Linked DNA regions of Homo sapiens: region 2 is linked to region 1. Evidence: promoter capture Hi-C in 16 types of primary human blood cells and fetal thymus (Javierre and others, 2016). All regions are on one chromosome and are shown on one strand. The core of a region is centred on a gene start or on the middle of the fragment in contact, and the rest is flanking DNA. Distances in the headings are between cores, read along the strand shown.

What was found. Contacts are between HindIII fragments. The CHiCAGO score rates a contact against its expected background, and 5 or more counts as called.
Region 2: a contact is called between a fragment that was not itself captured here and the fragment with the promoter of NKD1 in region 1, in 9 of 17 cell types (activated CD4 T cells, neutrophils, non-activated CD4 T cells and 6 more). The highest score is 11.3, in activated CD4 T cells.

What each region holds. Positions count from the first base shown.
Region 1 is chr16:50,543,269-50,549,654 of GRCh38, forward strand. It overlaps NKD1 (NKD inhibitor of Wnt signaling pathway 1), which reads left to right and starts at 5,128. Exons shown (of 10, transcript NM_033119.5): 1 at 5,128-5,310; 2 at 5,449-5,481; 3 at 6,154-6,287. The coding sequence starts at 5,286. RefSeq lists silencers at 4,771-5,220, 5,261-5,450. The HindIII fragment of the contact is 5,196 bases long and covers 4,721-6,386 here.
Region 2 is chr16:50,809,223-50,815,491 of GRCh38, forward strand. No RefSeq gene overlaps it. Among named protein-coding and RNA genes, the nearest start is that of LINC02168, 5.7 kb to the left of the region's middle. RefSeq lists enhancers at 1-919, 746-855. The HindIII fragment of the contact is 5,044 bases long and covers 893-5,936 here.

The DNA.
Region 1 (6,386 bases), core at 3,878-6,377:
CATATGTCAAGGGCAGGATCAGGTGGAGGTAATTGAATCATGAGGGCAGTTAATCCCATGCTGTTCTTGTGATAGTGAGTTCTCACAGGATCTGATGGTTTTATAAGGGGCTTTTCCCCTTTGCTCGGCACCTCTCTCTCCTGCTGCTATGTGAAGAGGGACGTGTTTGCTTCTCCTTCTGTCATGATTGTAAGTTTCCTGAGGCCTCCCCAGCCATGTAGAACTGTGAGTCAATTAAACCTCTTTCCTTTATAAATTGCCCAGTTCCGGTATGTTCTTGTAGCAGCCTGAGAACGGACTAATATAGCTTCTCTGCCCAGTGTGAAGAAGAGCAGAGAGGCAGGGCTGGGAGGAGAACAAGGCACCTGCCAAGGAGATGGGGAGGCTGGGCTGGCTTTCCCTCTCCTCCAGGCTCACCTGGGAAGCCTGTGCTCTAAACTTGCTCAAACATCCTGAACCCAGGAGGAGTTGGTGGTACACAAATTCAATTCAATTCAACCCCACATCCAGACTGTACTCAAGCAGCAGTCTTTTGGCCCAGTCATCTCCAACCTCATCTTCTCCCCTCTACTCCCAAACCATGCTCTCTCTGCTCCAGAGCCAGGGGCCTCTTTGCTGTTTCCAAAACATCCATGGCAGTCTCCACTTCAGGGCCTTTACATGTGCTGTTCCCTCTGCCTTTAGTACCCAAACAGAATGGCTTGGAGACCCCAGCCCTAGTTCTTGGGGAAGCCCAGCCTCCTCCATCTCATATCTAAGGCCTGAGGCCTCCTGGCTGCCTCTGGCTCCCATCTTTTCTCCTGCAGGGTATCTCCACTGTGAAGATTGCTGTTGGCCCCATTAATTACCTGTAGGAGTCATCTTTCTGATTCCTTAATTTTGTCCTGTGCCACTAACCCAGGAAGTGGCTAGGATTTTGCTGAGGGCTTGGAGTAACAGAGGAAGAAGAGAGCACTGCCAATCGCATGTTAGAGCTCACTGTCCCAAAAGTGAATTGGCCAGTCCCCACCTTGCTGGCTGTGCCTTCTTAGGCCCCATTATCACTCTCTTCTCATGCTGTTTCCTTTGAGATCTTTGTTTTCCCTTCCCTCCAAAATGCCTGATATTTTCTCAGGCAGAGTAGTCTAACTTTCCCCTCCTCACCCAAACTAGGCTTCCAGGCCCTTTAGCAATGCCAAAACTCACCAGGGAACTATAAAATAAAGCAACTCCAGGGATCCAGGAGGAACCAGTGGAGACTTGGGAACTGATTTTCTCCTTCATATATCCAAGATCGTATTATTGGCAGTACTCCCTCCTTATTGACCACAACATGCTCCTGGCTGAGGCTGGGCAGAGAGAGTTTGTCTCCTTCCACAGCAGGTGTGATGGCACCTGCTATAGGCAGTGCTGTGTTCGGCATTGCATTCAGAGATGCAAGTAAGGCAAGAACCCTGGCCTCAAGGAGCCCTGGCTCCAGGAGTGAAACTTAGCCTCATGCATAAAATAAGTGGAGATGGGAGGGGGCAGGGAAACCTTGGCTAATCAGAGCAGAGAAGAGCCCTTCAGGTTGGAAGGTCAAGGAGGGCTTCCTTTAGGAAATGGCATTTGAAGGGGCCAGATCAGATGGCTTAACTTCGGGGACAAGCTTTGGAGCAGCTAACTTGGGTGATGTAGGATTTTTTTTTTTTTTAAATCTCCCAGCTCTATGTCTGACAGATTTCACCTAAACCAGCCTTGTTAAATCTCAAGCCCCATGAAACCCGTTTCTGTTATAATCTCTCTCTCTTATCTCTTCCTTGCCTTCCTTTCCCATTCTCCTCCCCCAAAGGATAGGAAATCTTCAAAGAAAAAGATGTGTCACTGCAAGTATACAGCCCAAGAAATGGGCCAGATAAATTATTAAAACACACGAAAAGACAGTGAGTTATGGGGTGGGAAGCCCTCGGAGGCCGAATGGCCACCCCAGGTAGACAGCATGCTGGTGGCCCCTGGAGACCCCCTTCTCAGAGACCTGGACAGACTAACATTTTGCCACAAGGCCCATCTCTTGGGTTCTCACCCCAGATCCGGGTAAGGGTATCATGATTCCAATAGCAGTGAAGTCCCAGGCGCCTGCTGGGCTGGGAGGCACCAGGGTGAAGGTGGAGGGGGGCTTTGTGTCTGGGCTGGACATTTGGGATTTACTCCCCGCAAGACTCAAACTGCTAACTGCAGTTTTAGTTCTTGCTTTTATCTCTTTTTGAACTGTAAAAAGAAATTCCCAAGGGGAAGAGGGGATACTTTTTTCTCATGGAAGAAGAAAGCCAGGACCGGTTTAAGAAAGTAACCAACTTTCTAAGCACTGTGAGAAAGGATGCTCCAAGTTTTGCTTTGATTTAGAGGCACCCTGGTACCAGCAGGGAGGGGTGAGAAAGGCAAACAGGAATTCCAGACGAATTCCATTGCCTTTTGAGGGGTCTGAAAGAGGGTGCCCACTCCGACTCAGATGCTCAAACCCCTGCCTCCCTCCTACACCTGACCCCCGCCGTTCTGCCCCACTTTTTCATGTTCCTACAGCTCAGGGGTTCTTACTTCAGCATTACCCACATTTGATGCTGGATCATTTGTTCTGGTAGGGTGGGGGGGCTGCCTTATGCATTGTGGTATGTGTAGCAGCAACCCTGGCCTCTACCCACTAGATACCTCCAGGCATTACCAAGTGTCCCCTAGAGGGCAAAATTGTTTGCTGTCAGGTCCTTATGGGATGGAAAGAAAGAAAAATGGCCTGTTACCCCTGGTGTAACTTACTACACTGTTTACTAATTCATCATTTATTGTTTCTTGCCTATCTTCCCCCTAGGTGAGTGGGAGTTCGATGAGAGTGGCAGTTGTCTATTTTGTTCACCGATGTATCTTAGGTGACTAAAACAATGGTTGTCACATGGCTGGCCCTTCATATTTGTTTCCAGATGGAAGACTCTCTTTCTAGTGGTGGAACATTAGTTTTGCACTGTGTTGGGACAACCTGATGTAGTGAAAACAAGCCTGGGCAATGAAATCAACAGATTGGAGTTCAGTTCCTAATTGGGTCATGGATGAACTTTGTGACCTTGGGCAAGTGAGTTCACCTCTCTGAGTTGAATAGGTTCCCTCCTTTCTAGAACAAGTATGAGTCTGCATCAGAGAGTGGTTGCGAGGGCTACACATGATGGAGGATGAGGACTGGCACATCAGAAGTACTGAATGAAGAATTGTAACATAAAAATGACAACAGTAATATATTTTTGTGGTTTCAGCACTCTTCAAATGAAACCACCTGGCCAACAGGATTTTAGTGTACCTGCTTATAACATTAGCCTTCGTTTCCACCAAAAAGGGTGTTAAAAAAGGAAGCTTGGAACATGAAAGTAAGACACTTGGATGAAGAGATTTATGACTCTGGGGGGCTGTGAATTCCTAATGTCCTTTTGAGACATGTAGATCTTCCAGAGCGATGCTGCCCAATGCAGTAGCCACTAGCCAAGTGCAAATGGTCACTTGCAATATGGCTAGTCTTTGAGATGTGTTTTAAGTGTAAAATACACACTGAATTTTAAAGACTTAGCGCAATACAAAGAATGTAAAATATCTCATTATATCTTGAAATTATACTATTTTGGATATATGGTGTTCCCTTGGTGTCTTTGGGGACTGGTTCCAGGATCCTAGAGGATACCCAAATCCCCAGATGTCAAGTCCGCTATATAAAATGTCCTGTAGTATTTGCATATAACCTACACACATCCTTCTGAATACTTTAAATCATCTCTAGATTCCTTGTAATTCCTAATACAATGTAAATGTTATGTAAATAGTTGTTATACTATATTAAAAAGTTTTTTATTCTTTATTTTTGCTGTATTATTCTTTTTGCATATTTTCAGTCCACAGATGGTTGATGCCACAGATGTGGAACCTGTGAATAAGGAGGGCTGACTGTATTGAGTTAAGCGAAATATATTATTAATATTTCATCTATTTCTTTTTACTTCTAAAAGATGTGGCGACAAGAAAATTTAAAATTACAAATGTGGCCCACATTATATTTCTATTGGGCAGTGCTGCTCTAGAGAGTCGGCAAAAAGGGCAGAATGGAGCCTCCATTATACAGATCACAAAACTGAGCACAGGTAATTCACTCCAAAGGTCGGGGCTGGTCTCACTCTGAGCTGCGGGTTTTCTTTTCCCACGCCAGAGCTGCCTGGTGCCAGGACGAGCGTAACACGGACCCACAGTGTCCCCAGAAGGGGGCAGGCGTTCTGAGAGCCACAAAGGTGGGGTGGAATCCCTTGATGTCGACCGCCACCATCCCCCTCCCCCCGCGCGACCTCCCCGCAGAGACCTCCCCAGACAAAACAAACAAACCCTTGGGTCTGGCGAACTGCAGCGGGGAGCGGAAACCAAGGAAGATCAAAGACTCAGCGGTTACCCCCTTCCGGGCCGCGCAGTTTGGCAGCGCGCCCCGACCCGGGCGGGCACCCACGGGCCCCCGGACGAGGAGATCCCAGAGACTGGCTGATAACGGGGCGCTTTGGACATTTGTCGCTGCCTGGAGAGGGCTGGGCTCACACTGGCCCGGGGTGCGCTGGGGGCTCCTCCTGGACTCCCCAAATAAGAAACTAGAGGAGTGCGGTGGTGGGGGGCGGGTCACGGGGCGGGTAATGAACACTTTCTGCAGAAGGTAGGTCGTGGGAAGACTGGGAAAAGGCAGCGCTGCCGAAGCTTGCACCTGAGCAGCTAAGGTCTCCGCTCCCGACCTCAGTTTCCCCACCTGTAAATTGGAGCCGCCGAGTCCCGCCCTGCCCGTTTAGAGAGAACGTGGAGCGGAGGGAAGTGACAGTACAGTTAGCGATGGCCGGGCTGTTCTGTCCCAATACGCCTCCTGGACAAGCCGCCCCGCCGGGTCGCCAGCCCTGGAGCTCGGCCCCCGGCCCCAGACCGCGGCAGGGAGCGCGGACTGTGTCCCGCCCCTCCCGTCAGCGCCCCGCCCTCGTCCCCGCCCTGCCCCGCCTCCGGCCCCGCCCCCGCCGCAACCAGCCTTGCCTTTGATGCGCCGCACCGGCCAATGGGCGCGCGGGGAGGCGCGGGCCGCGGCGGCGGGCTGGGGGCTCGGCGCTCCCGGGCGTCAGTCGGGCCGCGGCGACGGCGGCAGGAGCGCGTCCCGGCGCCGCCTCGGGCTCCGCTCGGCTCGGGGGCTGCTTCGGGAGGAGGAGAGCCAAGGGAGGCGCCAGGCCCGCGGGCCGGGCGCATGGCTTAGGGACGCTCCCGGCCGCCGCAGCCCCAGCATGGGGAAACTTCACTCCAAGCCGGGTCAGTGCCCCCGCCCGCGCGCTCGCCCCGGGCCCCGCCGCCGTCGCCGCCGCGGTCGCTAACTCTCTCCCTTCCTTTCTTTCCTTCTCCCGCCGCCGCGGCTGCCGCCGCCGCCGCCGCCTCGCGATGTGCCTGCAGCCGCCGTGTGCAAGCGCAGGGAGAGCCCGGAAGGTAGGGGCGCGCGGGGCGCAGACCTCGGGGATGGACGCGGGGGACACCGCGGCCGCGGCAGAACGGCCCAGCCCGCCAGGTCTTATGACCAGGGCCACCCCGAAGCCCCAGTTCCGGCCACCGGCCCCCCAAGCCCGCTCCCTGAGCAGCCTTCGCGCCCCCTCCTCTGTCCCTCCTACCCGCTCCCCGCGGTCCTGCGCTCCCACCGCTGACCCTCAACCCCTCCCCCTCCCGCGTCCCTGCCCTCGGCTCTCACGGCACCCTCTCTTCAGACCCCCAAGCGCCTCCCCGCAAGACCCTGCCCCCTCTTCCTGCCCCCCGGCCCTTCTTCCGATATCCTGGCTCCTGCACCTACTGCGGCCCCTCTCCTGACCCCCAGCCCTCTCCTCCGCAGTCCTGGCTGCCAGTGCTCCCTGGTCTGATCCTAAACCCGTCCTCCTGGGGTACTGCTCACCCCTCTTGCCCCCTTCTGGCTCCTCGCTCCTAGGGCTTCGCTGAACCCCCCTTTACTTACCCGCGTCCCTCTCTTGGCTCCTGCCCCAGCCCGCGAACCCCCTCCTGGCCCCCGTGCCGTGGTCCTTCGCCTCCCACCGCGCCTCCTTCTTCCCTCCGCGGGGGTAACTTTTGGCACCTGGAGCCAGACTCAGGGGCTTCATGTCGTCCCCGTCCCAGGTGACAGCTTCGCCGTGAGCGCTGCCTGGGCTCGGAAGGGCATCGAGGAGTGGATCGGGAGACAGCGCTGCCCGGGCGGTGTCTCGGGACCCCGACAGCTGCGGTTGGCGGGCACCATAGGCCGAAGCACCCGGGTATGATTCCCCACCCCTGCCCCACCTCCTGGCCTCCTTTCAGCCTCAGAGATGGGTCCCCAAACCCATGCACCCCAACTTTGAGCACTTTCCTGCACA
Region 2 (6,269 bases), core at 2,165-4,664, 260 kb after region 1:
CCAGTTTTGAAAAGAGACCTGGCCATCCTGGGAAGAAAAAGACTGTCTGGAAGGGCAGTGGCTGGGCCCCTGGAGATCAGAGGCTTTTATGACTCCCTGGAGGGAATGCATTGCAGCTGGCATGGAGGGTGAGGCTGCCAAGAGCTCACCACATCAAAGGGGTGGGCATGGCAGTGGGGGGCTCTGGGGTGCACCAATGGTTTCGATCAAAACAGGAGCCATGCCCAGACCAGGAGGAGCGTTCTGTGTGGTGAGGGTCCTGTAGAGGATAGCATACGGAATAAACGTCAGGATCACACTGGGGAGACTGACGCAGCTGAGCCAGGAGGCAAGGAAGAAAGAGGAAGACTGTATTCTGTCCAGTTGGTATAAAAATCAAACTCAGCCAGCATCGCCCTCTGCTTTATGTTCAACTCTCCAGGTAGCCACCTAGAAAACCTTTTCACACCCATTGTCCCCACCCTCTGAGTAGACAGAATGGAGAGTTTTATTTCACAGCTGGAGAAACTAGGGCTAAAGGAGCTCAATGATCTCACTGGTGTTACTTCCTAACCAGACCTGTGCTGTGGGACTGTCCCGCAGGACGAAAGCAGCAGCTAGGCGTGACCATGGGGAGCCCCCTTGCCCCATAGGTAAATGCCGTCACCCTTTCCCAGCCTCAGATGATAGGGGTTCTGGGACAGAGAGACCCTGAACATAGAGTGCTGTGGGGAGTGGCGCATGCCTGGAACATGCTGTGTGGACAGAGGAGGTGGGAGAGATGAGGTGGTTTGGGCTAAGTAGAAGAGCAACTGTGGGAGGGACTGCATTCTGGAAACCCCAGAGCAGGGGATGAGGAAGAAATTGATCAAGCAATCCTCCCAGCTCGACCTCCCAAAGTCCTAGGATTACAAGCTTGAGCCACTGTGCCTGGCCTACCTGGATTGTGGTGTGTGTATCTGCTCTCTGGGCCTCAGTTTCCCCATTTGGTGAACATTGGGCCCTGGGTTAGGTGCTTCCTATATATGCTCCCTTATTCTTGTGAGAACTTCATCCCTAATTATCTGATGAGAAAGCTGAGGGTCAGGCAGAGCCAGTGGGACTTGAAGTCAGGGCCACCTGCCTCTAGTAGCCTGGCATTGACTCTAAAAATGACGAGTGGGAGGAGGGCAGGTTGGTCCAAGATGATTCCCTCAGCTCCTGCCTGCTTCTGCGGTCTCTCTGGAGATGCCTGCAAGGCTCTGCTGGGCCCCAGCACTGTCCCCTCAGCTAGGGAGCAGTTGGCAGGGTTCCCACTGTTCAGTCAGGTAAGGGCCTGCTGCTCTTCAGTGTGGCCTGTGTTTGGTGCCCATCCTATAGCCCAGAGTGCCAAGAGAGCATGCCATCTACCCTGCCTGGGAGGGCGGCCTTGTGCTTAGCTTGAGTTTTATTTCCTCCAGCCCCTGGTAGCCCCTTCGCCCCTGCCAGCCTATCTGCTGTGGGTGTGGGCTCCAGCTCTGTCATATTCTGTCCGTGTCCAGGGCTATGCACAGAGCCACAGTGCTGGCGAGGAGGGGCGCTGCCAGGGGTGGCCCAGAATCTAGACCCTGAATGGCACTGGGGAAGCATGGGCTGCTCCCTTTTCCTTTCTCTCTTTGTTACTGAGATGCACCTTGTTATCGTAAAGGGCACTGGGCCCCTGTATAGGGCTCAAGGAAATTTACATTTCCACACACTCTTGCAGCCATACATTAGGTCAACCTGGGGACCTTTCCCAGCACCTCCAAGGCTCCTTCTGCTCCCCCAAGTCAAGTTACCTCCCTGCACCAGTGATTACCACTATTTTGACTTCTGTCACTGTAGATCCCTGTTGCCAGGTTTTGAACTTATGTAAAGGGAGTCATAGATCGTGCACACTTCAGGTAGTGTCTGATGTCATGCTGTGTGCATCCTTCAGACTGTCTCTGTTGTGTATGTCAGTGATTCTACTTCATAGCTATGTGATGCTCTCTTACGTAAATATACAATCGTTTATTTATGGTTCTCATACTGATGGAAAGGGGCATTGCTGACAGTTTGGGGCTACTACACATGACCCTACTGTGATCCTTCTTGAATTGGTGGATTTTAGCTTTAGGAGAGACAGCTGCAGACTTTTCCAAAGTTTACACTCCTTCCTTCTTTCATTATTATTTTTTAACCAACTCCACTGAGGTGTAATTTACATACAGTAACATACACATATTTTAAGTAAGCAGTTAGATGAGTTTTGACACATTCATGAATTTATTTTTTATGAGACCAGGATCTCACTATGTTGCCCAAGCTAGTCTCGAACTCCTGGGCTCAAGCGATCCTCCTGCCTCAGCCTCCCAAGTATCTGGGACTACAGGCATGCACCACCATGCCCAGCCAATTTTAAAAATTTTTCGTAGAGAAGGTGATCTTGTTATGTTGCCCAGGCTGGTCTTGAATTCCTGACCTCAAGTGATCCTCCTGCCTGGGCATCCGGAAGCTCTATTACAGGCATGAGCCACCACTCTGGGATCTGACAAACTTTCTGTAGTGTTGAAGTTCAGTGACTTGGAGTAGTCACCTCCAGCTCAAGGTGCATGTGCCTGTGTGTTTTCTCCTTTTTTTGATAAAACCCAGGCTCAGCACAGGGTCGAGAAAAAGACTGAAAGTCAGCCCAGAAAGCAGTGTAGAAAGTAGAAAGCTAGTCTGGACTACCATTAGCATCAAGGACCTCAGTCACTGGAGCCATTGAGATGGGTCCACCCCTTCTCCCTCTCTTTCTCTCTCTCTCTTTTTCTTTCTTTAATTCATTAGCAAGAGGGTCTGTCTCACTATGTTGCCCAGGCTGGAAAACCTGGGCTCAAGCAACCCTCCCATCTCAGCCTCCCAGTCCCAGCTCAATCTTTCTTTTTAAAGTTGGAGAATTTTCTAAAGTTCTCCAACTTTAAAGGCTGCTGCCTAGGGAGGCAGGGCTGCACCCACGGGCAGAGTTAGAGGCAGAGCTGGAACAGAACCCCAGCATGGGAAGTCCGTGTTCACGGGGGGCCATTTCACCCTGGGACATTGTAGGGCAGCTCGAGGCTCTGACTAGGGAGGCCCAGCGCCTGGGGCTGGCGCTTGGTCCGAGCTCTGCAGGCTTTCCTGGGTGGAGAGGAGCCTCTTCCTGCCATGCACACCAGGCCTTCCTTAAGTGACTCAAACACCAATCTTCCTTGGGCTTCCTGAACTGTGAGGATTCCACAGTCTGGCAGGGCTGGTGGCCTCAGCCGTACACTCTGCAGCCAAGAGGGCTCTAGCTCCTGATTCCACCCTGTCCCTCAGCGGCTCCCCAGTGCTCTTCCAGGCCTTAGGCCTGCACCATCCCCACCTCTCCCTCCTCACCAACCTGCCACCTCCTGCCTCAGGTGGACACACTCAGGAGGAAGTCAAGCCTGTCCCTATACAAAAGCCATATTCCCAGGCACTTGCCTGAGTAGAGACGAAGTCTCAGCTCCTTCTACGTGAGCCCGAGGTGCCCACGGTCCCCACACCCCCTCCAGGAGTCCTTGCATTTGCGCAATGCTTTATACTCATCTGTCAGCTCGGCAGTGGGTCCCCCAGAGGGTGAAAACCACATTGTCCCTGTCTCATCAGCAACCAGAACAGGGGGCACCAACTGTGGCCTCCTCCCATATTTGTCGGGAGACTGAATGATTCTCAGGAAGCTGCGCGGCCACCGGCCATTTCACATGGGCATTTCCAAGCTGGGTGCTTTTTGCACCATGCTATTTTGGGCGGGAAGACTTTTCCAGTCCCTTTCTCCTTGGCATGCCACAGAAGAATTTCCTTCACCCACATCTGGATCATCTAGAATTACCCAGTTCAGCCTGTTGCTTTCAATGGCAAACGTCCAGTGCATGGTGTTGGCTCATTTTCATCCCCACTGTCTAGGAGCCCTTGAGCCTTGAGCTTTGGTTCACTATGGGCAGTCTCTTCCCTCCAGGCCTTGGCTAGAGCCAGGCAGGGACAGTGCCCACTCAGGGGCCGATCCACCTCGCTGGGGGCCACCAGTTCGAGCTGGGTGCTCTGTGAAACCAGTCATACCCAAGCTACTGGACTCTGGTCACTCCATGATCCTTGGCAAGATGTCTGTCTATGAACCGCAGTCCCTCTATCTGTAAAATGAAGGATCCTAGACTGGGACTCTCAAGCTCACTTGCCTACAGGGGCCAGGCAGGTACCTTAGGGAAGGGAGAAGGTTGGAGTGTTGGTGGAGAGCTGATATGGTAAAGGAAAGGAAGAAGCAGGCCAGTATATTCTGATTTTTTTTTTTTTTTTTGAGACGGAGTCTCGCTCTGCTGCCCAGGCTGGAGTGCAGTGGTGCGATCTCAGCTCACTGCAACCTCCACCTCCCGGGGTCAAGCAGTTCTCTGCCTCAGCCTCCTGCGTAGCAGTGAGTGCCACCATGCCTGGCTAATTTTTTTGTATTTTTAATAGAGACAGGGTTTCGCCATCTTAGCCAGGCTTGTCTTGAACTCCCGACCTCGTGATCCACCCGCCTCGGCCTCCCAAAGTGCTGGGATTACAGGCGTAAGCCACCGCACCTGGCCTATGTTCTGATTTTTCAGACGAAGTCAGAAATTTCTAAGAGAAGCAAAAGTTCCTGATCTGTACAAATCTGGCAACTTTTCTTTTTTTTAACTCTGTATGTGCCAGACGCGTTTAAGCCAGAGCAGCTCCATCTTGAATAAGGGCTGGGTAAAATGAGGCTGAGACCTACTGGGCTGCATTCCCAGCAGGTTAAGGCATTCTAAGTCACAAGATGAGCTAAGAGGTCGGCACAAAATACAGGTCACAAAGACCTTGCAGATAAAACAGGTTGTGGTAAAGGAGCCGGCCAAAACCCACCTAAACCAAGGTGGCGACAAAAGTGACCTCTGGTTGTCCTCACTGCTCATTATGAACTAATTACAAAGTATCATCATGTTAAAGACACTCCCACCAACGCCATGACAGTTTACAAATGCCATGGCAACATCTGGAAGCTACCCATATGGCCTAAAAAGGGGAGGAACCCTCGGTTCAGTGAAATCTCTGCCTCTTTCCTGGAAAACTCATGAATAATCTACCCCTTGTTTAGCATATGACCAAGAAATAACTATAAGTATACTCAGTCAAGCAGCCCATGATGCTGCTCTGCCTTTGAAGTAGCCATTCTTTTATGCCTTTACTTTCCTAATAAACTTGCTTTCACTTTACTCTATGGATTCACCTCAAATTCTTTCTTGTGCTAGATCCAAGAACCCTTTCTTGGGGTCTGGATTGGGACCCCTGTCCTGTAACATATGGACCAGCTATTTGAGCTCTGGCCTAGACATCCTGCTCTATATACCTTCCCCCTGGGGGATTGGTGGGTGGTGGCAGGGCGGGAACCCCAGAAAGGTGCAGGGCTTGAATTCTGACTACACCTGCCTCTCCCCACACACCAGCTGTCATGTCACAGGCACCCTTTGCAGTGTGATCGCCTTCCTTTTGGGGCGCCCGAGCTAGCATATGAATTTTTGATCAGCTTGCCTTTTGAATGAGTTGACTATCATGAATAACAGGGCAAAGGGCGCCAGCATTGTGTCTTTAACTATAACTGTTCCAATTAATTATGGGTGTAATTAGCATACATCGTGAGCAGCCCTGGAAAATAATACTTCATGGGTTATAGATGCCCTGGCAGCTGTAACATGAAGTGTGATACCGGGCTGGGGTAGAGATAGTTATTAATAAATTACTCCCATTGTCAGAGACCCTTATTTATACAAATTAGCAGGGGATACATAATCAACTTTAACTGTATAATTTATAATAATTGATTTCATTTTGACTGACCACCAGTCGCTTACCAAATACCCTCGGAAGAAAAATTGCCCTATTAGGGTAAGTTTAATCCTAAACATAGCTAATGAATCCTATTACTTTAAGGTCATATTTGAAGCTTTTGTTAATTGTCAGAACCATTTTAAATTGATTAGAGTTAAATTAAATCAATGTAATGTTTAGAAAAACAATATTTCTAATGGATGAGGCCAGGCTGACCTCGAATAAACATATTTATCAACCGATTCCTGCTGACGAGAAGGGGAACAGCTGGGCCCATAAGTCACATTTGTCTATAATATGGGAAATGTCACCAGACAATTAGTTATGTCAGGTAATGAATAGGGAGCACGGGGACTCCCCTCTGGCAGCTGGTGTGGATGGGGTAGAATGTTCCAGACCTGAGCCCCTGGCTGCACCCCTCTGGATGGTCTTTGTTTCCCCAACCT